Regions from separate parts of the Homo sapiens genome. Here region 1 is linked to region 2. Evidence: promoter capture Hi-C in human tissues and cell types (Jung and others, 2019). All regions are on one chromosome and are shown on one strand. The core of a region is centred on a gene start or on the middle of the fragment in contact, and the rest is flanking DNA. Distances in the headings are between cores, read along the strand shown.

Region 1 (5,821 bases), core at 1,054-3,553, 890 kb before region 2:
GGCATGAGCCACTGTGCCCAGCCCGATATTCTTGCTTATTTCTCTTTCCAGATTAATTTTGTAATCTTGTCAAATTCCATGATACCTATGGTTGGGTTTTTTTATTGAAATGGCATTGCACTTAAGAATAAATTTGTGAAGAATCATCATCTTTATGTAAAATGTATTGCTCCTATATCCAGGAAATAATACAAATGTTTACTCAGTTGGTTTTGTGTACCTCCCAAGAGAGTTGTGGCAGATGCTGTCGATACCTTGTCCTGTGTCCCCTTGGCCCATCTGAGTTCACCTGTAACTAAGGCTTCCAGAATGCTGATGCCTTCCCACCCTGATGCCTGCCTCTCTCTTCTCTGCCTGAGGACTTTTTCTGGCATCATCTGAACTTGCCCTACTCCCCCTAGAAGCACCCCCAAAGTGTGTGGTGTCAGGGGTCCCAGGGCAGTTCTCCCCAGTGGGAGATGGGAGTCTGTGGATAAATGCTCCAACTCCTCACTCTTGCAGCTGGATGACCTGAAGTGTGCTACCACCCTCTATCTCGTAGAATGTTCTGTGGGGGGTGAAGCCCCAGTTGCTCACAGTAGTTGATCCATTACCACACCTGCACATGTGTGGATATTAAAAATGGAAAGAGTTGTAGCACATGAACCTTAGAAGCTGCTGGATTTCTAGGGAAACAAAGGAGTGAAAAGGGTGTTTTCACTTATGCTTGGGGCACTACCTGGCTTGGGGGTGGGAAGTCCCTGGGGCATCCTGAGGCTTCCAGAACCTCCACGGTGGTGACTGTGGGGTGGCCTATGAAGAGGGCCTGGCTCCAGGGGCTCGAGCCTGAGAAAGGGACTTGTTCTTCCTGGATACACATGCAGGAACATACACCTGTATTTCCACAATCCTTGGACAGGCAGACGCTGTTTTGTAGGAAACTGGGTCCTGCATTAGCAGGTGAGGAACCCAGACGTCTCCCGAATCTATCTTCAGTGCCCTAACTTTTTACTCCCAGCTCTTTACTTGGCCTTGGGGGTTGGTTGGGAGTGGGGACAATAAAATAAAGAAGGATTTATAAAGGAAGCATGTTTTATCTTCAACTTTCTTCCCCTATTTCCTCTCATTAAAACTGAATTTGCTTATGCTATCATTACACAGTGGTTATTTCCCACTACATCATGAATGGACCTTGTTGGTGATGAGTTCCTGAAAGTTTGCAGGTAATTCAAGATGTTTTTGAAATAAAAGTGTGAAAATATGTCAAAAGTGTATTAACTTTGTAAATGTACATTATATAAAATGGGCCTCTCCTTAATGAATGTATTTTGTGGGTCCATATTCTCAGATGCTAGGTTTGCAAGGGACATCTTCAAGCAGCTTTCATGTGGCTCCTGGACCTTGGGTAGCTGGGATCCCTCACACAGTGTTCTAGGAGGAGGGCAGTGCATCCTCTTAGGAGGATGTGTTCACACAGAGGGTGAACACTGCCTTCACCCTCCGTGTGATTGTTCTTCATTAGGATGGCAGCATCCTGAGGCCCTCTGAGCCTCCTCCCTCAGCTAGATCTTTGTCTTGTTACTTTGAGTGTTGCCAGCCAGGGTCAGCTTCCAGGCTTGCTGTCCTGACCACACAGTTCTTTCCCTCCAAACCCTTGGTGTTCAAAACACTTACTAATGGCGTGTCACATGTTAAAATTCTAACTCTCTATCAACTTCTATCCTCTATCTTGTTTTCAGCTTTGTTTACTCATCCTGTGGTATTTTCTTGAGAGACTCTATTCTCTATCTTGTTTTCAGCTTTGTTTACTCATCCTGTGGTATTTTCTTGAGAGACACACAAAGATTTTAATGGTTTTCATTTTTCTGATGGACTGTTATTTCTTTGAATCGGACTTTATGGCAAGGCTGACCTGAGAGCAGGGCTGTCTTTAGGTTAAGTTATAATTGCCTGACTGGGACAACAATGGGAAATACCCCCACATTTTTAAATGAGTGACATCTGAACAGAAGTTAATAGCATGTAATGGAAACAAAATCAAATGGCAAAATTAACAACATGAAAGTAAAAATGGTCAGAAGTGATGTCAAAGCTCATACACAGTAGTGTTCTTTTTTTCTTGTTCTTGTTCTTGTTCTTTTATTGAATAAAGCAAATGAGACAAACCAGGATTGGAAATGCTGCCATTTGAAGCAATCTGGAAAGTTACTCTGAAAATTCTGGCTTATACTTGTTCATATTTTGCTTTTGATTTTTCTGCCAGGGAGAAGCATCTTGAGACTGCAAAGGGTAGAATGCGCACTGGGTCAGAGGGAAATGGAAGCTCAAATGGGCTGAGGGAGGAGGCAGAAACTTTCATTTGTGTTAAATGCATTCAGGTCTCCAGGTCTGTTGGATCATATCTTAAGGAAGTAACAATTTGTGCATGACAATGGAGTGTCATACCTGTGGCTCAAGCCTCACACGCAAACCTCTACCTTCTTAGAAATGGTTTGTCTGAGATGACAAAGTATTAACCCTAATCCACAAATAATATAAAATGGTGCTACGGTTTGAATGTGTCCCCTCCAAGATCCAGGCATTGAAACTTTTTTTTTTTAGACGGAGTTTCGCTCTGTTCCCCAGGCTGGAGTGCAGTGGCATGATCTTGTCTCACTGCAACCTCTGCCTCCCGGGTTCAAGTGACTCTCCTGCCTCAGCCCCCCAAGTAGCTGGGATTATAGGCACGTGCCAACACACCCGGCTAATTTTTGTATTTTTTAGTAGAGACAGTGTTTTTGCCATGTTGGCCAGGCTGGTTTCAAACTCCTGACCTCAGGTGATCTGCCCGCCTCAGCCTCCCAAAGTGTTGGGATTACAGGTGTGAGCCACCACACCCGGCCCAGGCATTGAAACTTAATGGCCCATGGGACAGTATTAGGAAGTGGAGGCTTTAAGAGGTGATTCAGTCACAAGGATTCTTTCCTTGTGAATGGGATTCAGGCCCTTTTAAAAGAGGCTTCACACAGCAGCGTCTGGCCCTCTTGCCCTTCTGCCTCGTGCCATGTGAGGACACACTGTTCCTCCCCGCTAGACGATGCAGCATCAAGGTGCCATCTTGGAAGCAAAGAGCAGCCCTCACCAGACACCAAACATGCCAGAGTCTTGATTTTGGACTTCCCAGCCTCCAGGACTGTGAGAAATAAATTTCTGTTCTTTATACATGTGTCTCAACCATTCCAGATGTTGAGGATTTGAATTTATTTCCATAAGTCTCAAAGTCTTTGGTGATGCAGGTGGTGCTGCTGAAATGTTACAAATCAACATGTGGGTTTCTTGTTTGGCTAAAAAATATCTCCGGATTCCAGATGATACAAAGTTGGGGTTAGAGTATTAGGGAGCATCGATAGCAAGATAAAGAAAGCCACTCAGCCTGGCTTGAGTTAAATGAAGTTTGTTATAATAAAGCAACAGATGGCAACCACCACGGAGTGGGCAGCCAGGCCTTGTCAACCTAAATAACAAACATTTTGAAAAGAAAATGATATTTATTTGGGAATAGGCATTGCGATGGAAATGCATGTACTATAATACACTATGTACCTATTCAGGGAGGTAAAGGAAGACAAGGGTTTTTAGAGGAAAAATAAGGAGGGTTACATAACTGTTTTGGGTTAATTATCCTTGACTACAAGGTTCAATAACGAGGGTAGCACCAGTCTGAGGTTGGACAGGCAGTTGCTGGGCAGATGTCCTTGTAGAGGTATTTTTTTGCGTAAGGTTGAGATGGACTTTGTGCAAGGTTGTGATTTTTGCAGTCTTGCAATAGTTTTTGTACATGACAACCCTCTCTTCAAGGTCTCGTCTGGCTCTGTTTGTTGGGATTTTTAACATAGGTGACTTCATTTTGATTCTGAGAGCTTTCACAGCCTCATGTCGCAGTATTTAAAACACTTGCTCCCCACTCTCTCCTCCTTTTATAGGATCATTGAAGTTATTTTTTCTTGTAAAAGCAATACATATCAAATAGACATATTAGAAAATATAGATAAGACTAAAGAAAAGAATAAAAGAAAATGAAGAAAATATCTAAAATATTTATAAAATATTCATAAGTCTATCCCCTTCATATTACTTTTATGTATACATATAATTTTTCCTTACCCAAATACAATCATAATTTTTGAGCTAGGCTCCACCTCCACCCCATATCACAATATATTCTGCAACAATATTTTAATGGCTGCATAGTATTCAGCCATTTAATGGCTGTATATCACATAGCTGGGAAGAACATCCCTGTAGTTAAATAAGTTGTCAGGAGTAGAAGGTGCAGAAAAGATGGGCATATTTTTAAGCTTTTGAGGCATGCAGCCAAAGTGGTTGCACCAATTTAGATTCCCACAAAAGCGTGCTCTGAATATCCCAGCATGATATTATCACTTTTTTCCTAATTATTACCAATTTGATAAGTGAAAATAGCATTTGTTTTAGTGACTGATTAAAGCTTTTTGATTGCTGTAAAGTTAATTGTGAAACCCTGGCTTTTACAAAGAACCTCAAGAGACAAAGTGAGGAGGAAGCATATTCGAACAATTTTTAAAGTCACCGGCTACTGGCTTCTTGGTCTTTTTTCGCTGTCTTATCTGGATAAGGAACCCAGCTGCTCCTGTAATTGATTTAACACCCCATGTTTCTGGTTACCTATGTGAGTGCTGATGTATTCATCTTGGAATATTCTCAAGTTATTTTCCCTTTATAAATGAACCAGAGAAATATGTGAAATTATGATAGAAAAGTTTAGAAAGTTGAGAATTTCTTTCTGGTCAGACATCTGTGAGAAATTATCTCTATTATCTTTGAAATTCTTCTTTCTTATTGTGTAATATACTTTGCTGAGGCAAGGTTTTCTCTTTCAATGCATTCTTTGTTTATAAGAAACTAAGTCAGTTGCAATAATTCTGTTGGACAATTTTCTTGCTTTCTGCTCCATCTTTTTTTCTCTAAAGAACAGATAAAAGAAATGAGAAAGAATAAGAATGCTATATTTCATTGGTATTTTTCAACTTTCTAAGATTTTGATGCTCAAAAAATTGTATAGAGGCATTCTTATGTACACACTGCTTTTATGTTTATTTGTTAGAATTGTTATATTCCTTCCCAGTAGAGAGGTACTTGCATAATATTTGTGGCATTTGTAAGTGGAAATCATATGTAACAATAATGCAAAATTACTCATAGGAAAATAACATTTCTGTGTGACCATCTGATGTTGACCATCAGAAGAGGGATTCACTTTGGGTTATTTGTCTAATGATATTGCCAGGTTTATCTTAATTTGTCCACAGCTTCTCCTAGCCTTTCTTGTCCCAAGGGCGCACATTGGCAAGAAGCTTGGGGTGGTCGGGGAAATAGTTTTTGTCCAGGAATTGAGTTAATTTGGCCCACATGACCCCCATGGTCATTTCTAAACTTCACAAAGAAAAAGTACATCATCAAAATAAATCCTAAAATTCACAATAGAACAAATATATAAATGTAGAAAACTATAGTTTCAGAACTGATTAAATAAAAGGAATCCTCAGATCAAAATGTCAGTTTTAACTATAGTGTTCACAGCTGCATGTTCCATAGCTATAAGCCACATGTGCTCTTTAAATTTACATTAAAACATTTAAATAAAACTAAAATTTAATTCCTCAATCACACCTGTCACATTTTAAGTGTTCATTAGCCACACATGGCTGATGTTGGTCAAATAACTTTTACTCTTGTTTTTTTTTAAGTTGTCTGTATACTTTGATCCTGAAAAACCTTTTTAGCTGGAGAGAGACTGTTCCCCCCTGGGCCAGCCAATTCTTAG
Region 2 (5,918 bases), core at 257-2,756:
TCCTTTGGCTTCCAGAATGCCACAGTAGCCTGGTTTTTCTCCTGCTTCAGGGGCTCCTCCACTTCAAGAGTCTCTATTTGGTTCTTTCTTTCTTTCTTTCTTTTTTTTTGAGATGGAGTCTCACTCTTTTGCCCAGGCTGGAGTGCAGTGGCATGATCTTGGCTCCCTGCAACCTCTGCCTCCCAGGCTCAAGCGATTCTCCTGCCTCAGCCTCCCGAATAGCTGGGACTACAGGTGAGTGCCACCACACTTGGCTAATTTTTTGTATTTTTAGTAGAGACGGAGTTTCACTATATTGGCCAGGCTGGTCTTGAACTCCTGATCTCAAGTGGTCCCGCCTGCTTCGGCCTCCTAAAGTGCTGGGATTACAGACGTGAGCCACTGCACCTGGCCTCTTTCTTGAGCCCTTAACCTTGGAGGACCCAGGGCACTGTCCTTGGTCCTCTTTTCTTCTTTGTCTACACTCACCCACAGCTTCATCCAGCCCCAGGTCCTCAGCCTGTCCCCCTGGGTCACAGCCTTCCCCTCTGCCAATGCTGGAGTTCCCCTTAGTGCTGCCCTAAGAGATTTTTAAAAACACAGCTATACATTCATTGTTTTAAGAGCTTGGCATTTTAATGTTTTGCTGCAGGAGAGGGAGGCTTCAGGGATTCACACTTATGTATATACATGATGTTATTTCTGTAAGTGCAAACACATACATTTATGGCTATATGCATGGAAAAGCCCAGAAAGTGACACACCAAGATGTTATGAGTGTTTATCTATGGGTTGTGGGATTACTAGAACTTTAAAAATGTCATTAGCACCATCAAATAGATTTACAACTGTAATGCTGATTTTAAAAATAACTTAAGTGTGTAACAATAGGTTACATACGCTAGTGTTCATTCATAGCTGGAATGCTACACAATCATTAAAAAGCGTGTTGGCAATGATACTTACCGATATGGCAAAATTCTCACTACTTGATGCCAGGTAAAACAGCAGGAGATGCCAGATATACAGTCTATACAGTCTGATGCCAGTTTTATATAATAAATTTTTAAAAAGAAAACGACATGCATCTAGAGAAAAGACTGGAAGGAAATGTATCAAAATGTTACCTGTGCATCTCTCCAGGTGACGTGAAAAGCGTTTTTCAACTTCTTGAATTTTTCAGGTTCCGCAAAAAAAAAAGTGCGTTATTTTTACCTTAATTAAAAAAAAAAAAAACAAACAAAAACCCTGGTTCTTATTCTTTTTGAGCAGCAAGTCGCTGTCCGCCGGGCGCAGTAGCGATGCACCGCGTCCCCGCCCGCGTCGCTGCCGGGTCGCCGGAGGCCGCAGCACGGGCAGGTCCAGCAGGCCGCAGCGCCCCCCCGCGGTATGTCCCGGCGGCGGGAAGGGGGTGGGCGCGGAGGGCGGGGAGGAGGCGCCGGGCGTCCCCGCGCTTCCCGCGAGATCCCGCTCCGCCCGCTCCGCCCCGCTCGCCGCGCTCCCAGCTCCCCGCGCCGCGGCACTTCCTGCCTTCCGCGCCCGCGCCGCCCGCCCTCGTCTGCGCCCGTCGCCTGCCGCCCGCCGCCCGGCGACGCGCCCGCCGGCGTCCCCGGAGGTGCCCCCGGCCCGGCCGGGTCGTCGCCCCGCCGCCGCGCCCGCGAGCCGCTTTGTCTCGGGCGGGGCGCGCGGGAGAGGCCGCCAGGTGCCCCCCGCCACGGGCCCGGGCCCCCCGCCCCGGGGCGGCGGCGGCGGCGCCGGGCCCCGGGGCGGGGGGCGCGCCGGGATGGGCCCCAAGAGGCGACAGCTGACGTTCCGGGAGAAGTCACGGATCATCCAGGAGGTGGAGGAGAATCCGGACCTGCGCAAGGGCGAGATCGCGCGGCGCTTCAACATCCCGCCGTCCACGCTGAGCACGATCCTGAAGAACAAGCGCGCCATCCTGGCGTCGGAGCGCAAGTACGGGGTGGCCTCCACCTGCCGCAAGACCAACAAGCTGTCTCCCTACGACAAGCTCGAGGGCTTGCTCATCGCCTGGTTCCAGCAGATCCGCGCCGCCGGCCTGCCGGTCAAGGGCATCATCCTCAAGGAGAAGGCGCTGCGCATAGCCGAGGAGCTGGGCATGGACGACTTCACCGCCTCCAACGGCTGGCTGGACCGCTTCCGCCGGCGCCACGGCGTGGTGTCCTGCAGCGGCGTGGCCCGCGCCCGCGCGCGAAACGCTGCCCCCCGCACCCCGGCGGCGCCTGCCAGTCCGGCCGCGGTGCCCTCGGAGGGCAGTGGCGGGAGCACTACTGGTTGGCGCGCTCGGGAGGAGCAGCCGCCGTCGGTGGCCGAGGGCTACGCCTCGCAGGACGTGTTCAGCGCCACCGAGACCAGTCTATGGTACGACTTCCTGCCCGACCAGGCCGCGGGGCTGTGCGGAGGCGACGGACGGCCGCGTCAAGCCACCCAGCGCCTGAGCGTCCTGCTATGCGCCAATGCCGACGGCAGCGAGAAGCTGCCCCCGCTGGTGGCCGGCAAGTCGGCCAAGCCCCGCGCAGGCCAAGCCGGCCTGCCCTGCGACTACACCGCCAACTCCAAGGGTGGTGTCACCACCCAGGCCCTGGCCAAGTACTTGAAGGCCTTGGACACCCGAATGGCTGCAGAGTCTCGCCGGGTCCTGCTGTTGGCCGGCCGCTTGGCTGCCCAGTCCTTGGACACCTCGGGCCTGCGGCATGTGCAGCTGGCCTTCTTCCCTCCCGGCACCGTGCATCCGCTGGAGAGGGGAGTGGTCCAGCAGGTGAAGGGCCACTACCGCCAGGCCATGCTGCTCAAGGCCATGGCCGCGCTAGAGGGCCAGGATCCCTCAGGCCTGCAGCTGGGTCTCACGGAGGCCCTGCACTTTGTGGCTGCCGCCTGGCAGGCAGTGGAGCCTTCGGACATAGCCGCCTGCTTTCGTGAGGCTGGCTTTGGGGGTGGCCCTAATGCCACCATCACCACTTCCCTCAAGAGTGAGGGAGAGGAAGAGGAGGAGGAGGAGGAAGAAGAGGAGGAGGAAGAGGGTGAAGGAGAGGAAGAGGAGGAGGAAGGGGAGGAGGAGGAGGAGGAAGGGGGGGAAGGAGAGGAATTGGGGGAGGAAGAGGAGGTGGAGGAGGAGGGTGATGTTGATAGTGATGAAGAAGAGGAGGAAGATGAGGAGAGCTCCTCGGAGGGCTTGGAGGCTGAGGACTGGGCCCAGGGAGTAGTGGAGGCCGGTGGCAGCTTCGGGGCTTATGGTGCCCAGGAGGAAGCCCAGTGCCCTACTCTGCATTTCCTGGAAGGTGGGGAGGACTCTGATTCAGACAGTGAGGAAGAGGACGATGAGGAAGAGGATGATGAAGATGAAGACGACGATGATGATGAGGAGGATGGTGATGAGGTGCCTGTACCCAGCTTTGGGGAGGCCATGGCTTACTTTGCCATGGTCAAGAGGTACCTGACCTCCTTCCCCATTGATGACCGCGTGCAGAGCCACATCCTCCACTTGGAACACGATCTGGTTCATGTGACCAGGAAGAACCACGCCAGGCAGGCGGGAGTTCGAGGTCTTGGACATCAAAGCTGAGTCACTGGACCTAGCTGTGCCCCCAACCTAGATTGGCAGCACCACCCCAGGGCAGAGGACTCTCTGGGCACCCGCTGTGCATGGAGCCAGAGTGCAGAGCCCCAGATCCTTTAGTAATGCTTCCCCTGGTCCTGCAACAGGCCCGGTCACCTCGGCCGGGCCCGGGGCTGAGGTCAGCCTCACTGCCTGCTTATTGCCTCTTTCTCAGAATCCTCTTTCCTCCCCATTTGGCCCTGGGCTCAGGGGACCAGGTGGGGCGGGTGGGGAGCTGTCCGGTGCTACCACACCGTGCCCTCAGTGGACTAACCACAGCAGCAGCCAGGGATGGGCCCTGGAGGTTCCCGGCCGGAGAGTGCCTCTCCCCTCTGCCATCCACGTCAGGTCTTTGGTGGGGGGACCCCAAAGCCATTCTGGGAAGGGCTCCAGAAGAAGGTCCAGCCTAGGCCCCCTGCAAGGCTGGCAGCCCCCACCCCCACCCCCCAGGCCGCCTTGAGAAGCACAGTTTAACTCACTGCGGGCTCCTGAGCCTGCTTCTGCCTGCTTTCCACCTCCCCAGTCCCTTTCTCTGGCCCTGTCCATGTGACTTTGGCCCTTGGTTTTCTTTCCAGATTGGAGGTTTCCAAGAGGCCCCCCACCGTGGAAGTAACCAAGGGCGCTTCCTTGTGGGCAGCTGCAGGCCCCATGCCTCTCCTCCCTCTCTGGCAGGGCCCCATCCTGGGCAGAGGGGCCTGGGGCTGGGCCCAGAGTCCAGCCGTCCAGCTGCTCCTTTCCCAGTTTGATTTCAATAAATCTGTCCACTCCCCTTTTGTGGGGGTGAACGTTTTAACAGCCAAGGGTGCATCCTTCATGGTCTGGGCTTGCGTCTGTCTTGGGGGACTTATTCGTCCTGGCTCTCTTTGGTCCTTGCTCTGGTGGGACATGGAGGCAAGTGTTGAGAGGGTTGCCCTGACCGGAAGAGGGGCAGGAGGAGACCTCAAGCTTGGGGTCACTTGGCTGGGGCAGGAGGGAGCCATCAGTCTCTGGGGGCAAATCAATATGCACGTGGGGACTAGGCCTACCGAGGCTGGTTTGAAGGCCTTTGCAGGAGTGGGGTCAGGACAGAAAGAAAGGAGTGTTGGGGCAGCTTCTGGGGTCCAGATTGGAGTTTGGAGGGGCATATAGGTCACCCTTTGGTTTACCTTTGGTGCCTTAAGAGGGAGCCCTTTAGGCCTTTCAGTGATTGGCATATCCAAGCCTGGTGGCCACCTCTAGGCACAGTGGCAGGAGGAAGGTGAAATTGCTAGGAACAGGTTGCACCCCCAAGAGGCAGAGGATGGTTGGTAACTCCCTGTGCAGTGCCTTCCAGGGGGCCCCCAGTACAAAGGTGAGGTCAGGTCCCTTTGCTGATCCTACCCTTTTTCCTTTCAGAGCCAGCCCCTCCCTCCCTACCCCTCCTCACTGAGGCCCTCAGGCCCCAGCAGTTCCAACCAAGGGAGGGCCTGGGCTTGAGCATGGCTGGCAGCTCTGGGCCCCAAACCGGTTTTCCCACCTCACCTGAGGCTGGCACATCACTTCTGTGTTTCCTTCCCATCCCCGGCCCACCTTTACCACCAAGTTTCTCCTCTCCAACACTGGGAATGTTAATGGGGGAGTATCCAGTTCATCTCTTGTCCCTGGCCTGCCCTGGTTATGGCCCCTTATGGAAAATCAAGACCACTATATATGACTTTAAAACAAGAAATGGGGGTGACTTCCACTCTTGGCCTCTACTTCTGGCATTCAGGAATCCCCTCCAGGCCTTGAGGGCTTTGAAGTGACAACAAAAAGTAGTTGGGATCCCCCTTGCCACCACCTTCCCTCCCGAAATCCGAGCCCTGGAGTTGGAGACCAGAAGGCCACAAGGAAGCCCCACCTGCTCTCGAGTGAGCAGGAGGAGCATTGCCTGCTTGCCCAGGTGCTCCTGTTTAACCCAGCTACCTCACCGCAGGTTCCAACAAGACGAATTACTTCCATTTGTCTCCTGCGAAAAAGAACAGTTCTTGCTGGAACTGAGACTGTCTCATTAATGATAGTACCAGCTGATACTAATAGGGCCCCTGCTCTGTGCTAAATGCTTTAGATGCTCACAAAGCCCCTATAAGGTAGGTAAAGCCATGAGAAACCAGGCAGCGGTCCGGTCAGGTGCCCAAGGCCATGCCGTTAGTCAAACTCTCTTCTCATCCTGACTCTAGAAGTACCTCTTCACTAAGGAGGGACCCATATTCCTAACCCCCTTATGGGTACTGCAATGAATTTGTTTCTTTCTTTTCTTTTCTTTCTTTTTTTTTTTTTTTTGAGATGGAGTCCCGCTCTGTCGCCTAGGCTGGAGTGCAATAGC

The links. The method cuts DNA at HindIII sites, captures the fragments that hold promoters and counts their contacts. A contact is called where the count stands out against the background at its distance.
Region 1: a fragment that was not itself captured here is called in contact with the fragment with the promoter of CENPB in region 2 in 1 of the 25 tissues and cell types used here (lymphoblastoid cells).

The regions. Positions count from the first base shown.
Region 1 is chr20:4,673,917-4,679,737 of GRCh38, reverse strand. No RefSeq gene overlaps it. Among named protein-coding and RNA genes, the nearest start is that of PRNP, 9.6 kb to the left of the region's middle. RefSeq lists a cis regulatory region at 5,589-5,821. The HindIII fragment of the contact is 5,211 bases long and covers 1-4,908 here.
Region 2 is chr20:3,782,328-3,788,245 of GRCh38, reverse strand. CENPB (centromere protein B) reads left to right here and starts at 1,506. Exons shown (of 1, transcript NM_001810.6): 1 at 1,506-4,395. The coding sequence starts at 1,763. The coding sequence ends at 3,562. It also overlaps a transcript of CDC25B not described here. RefSeq lists a silencer at 1,205-1,554 and enhancers at 1,390-2,099, 1,995-2,134, 2,100-2,810. The HindIII fragment of the contact is 8,329 bases long and covers 1-1,779 here.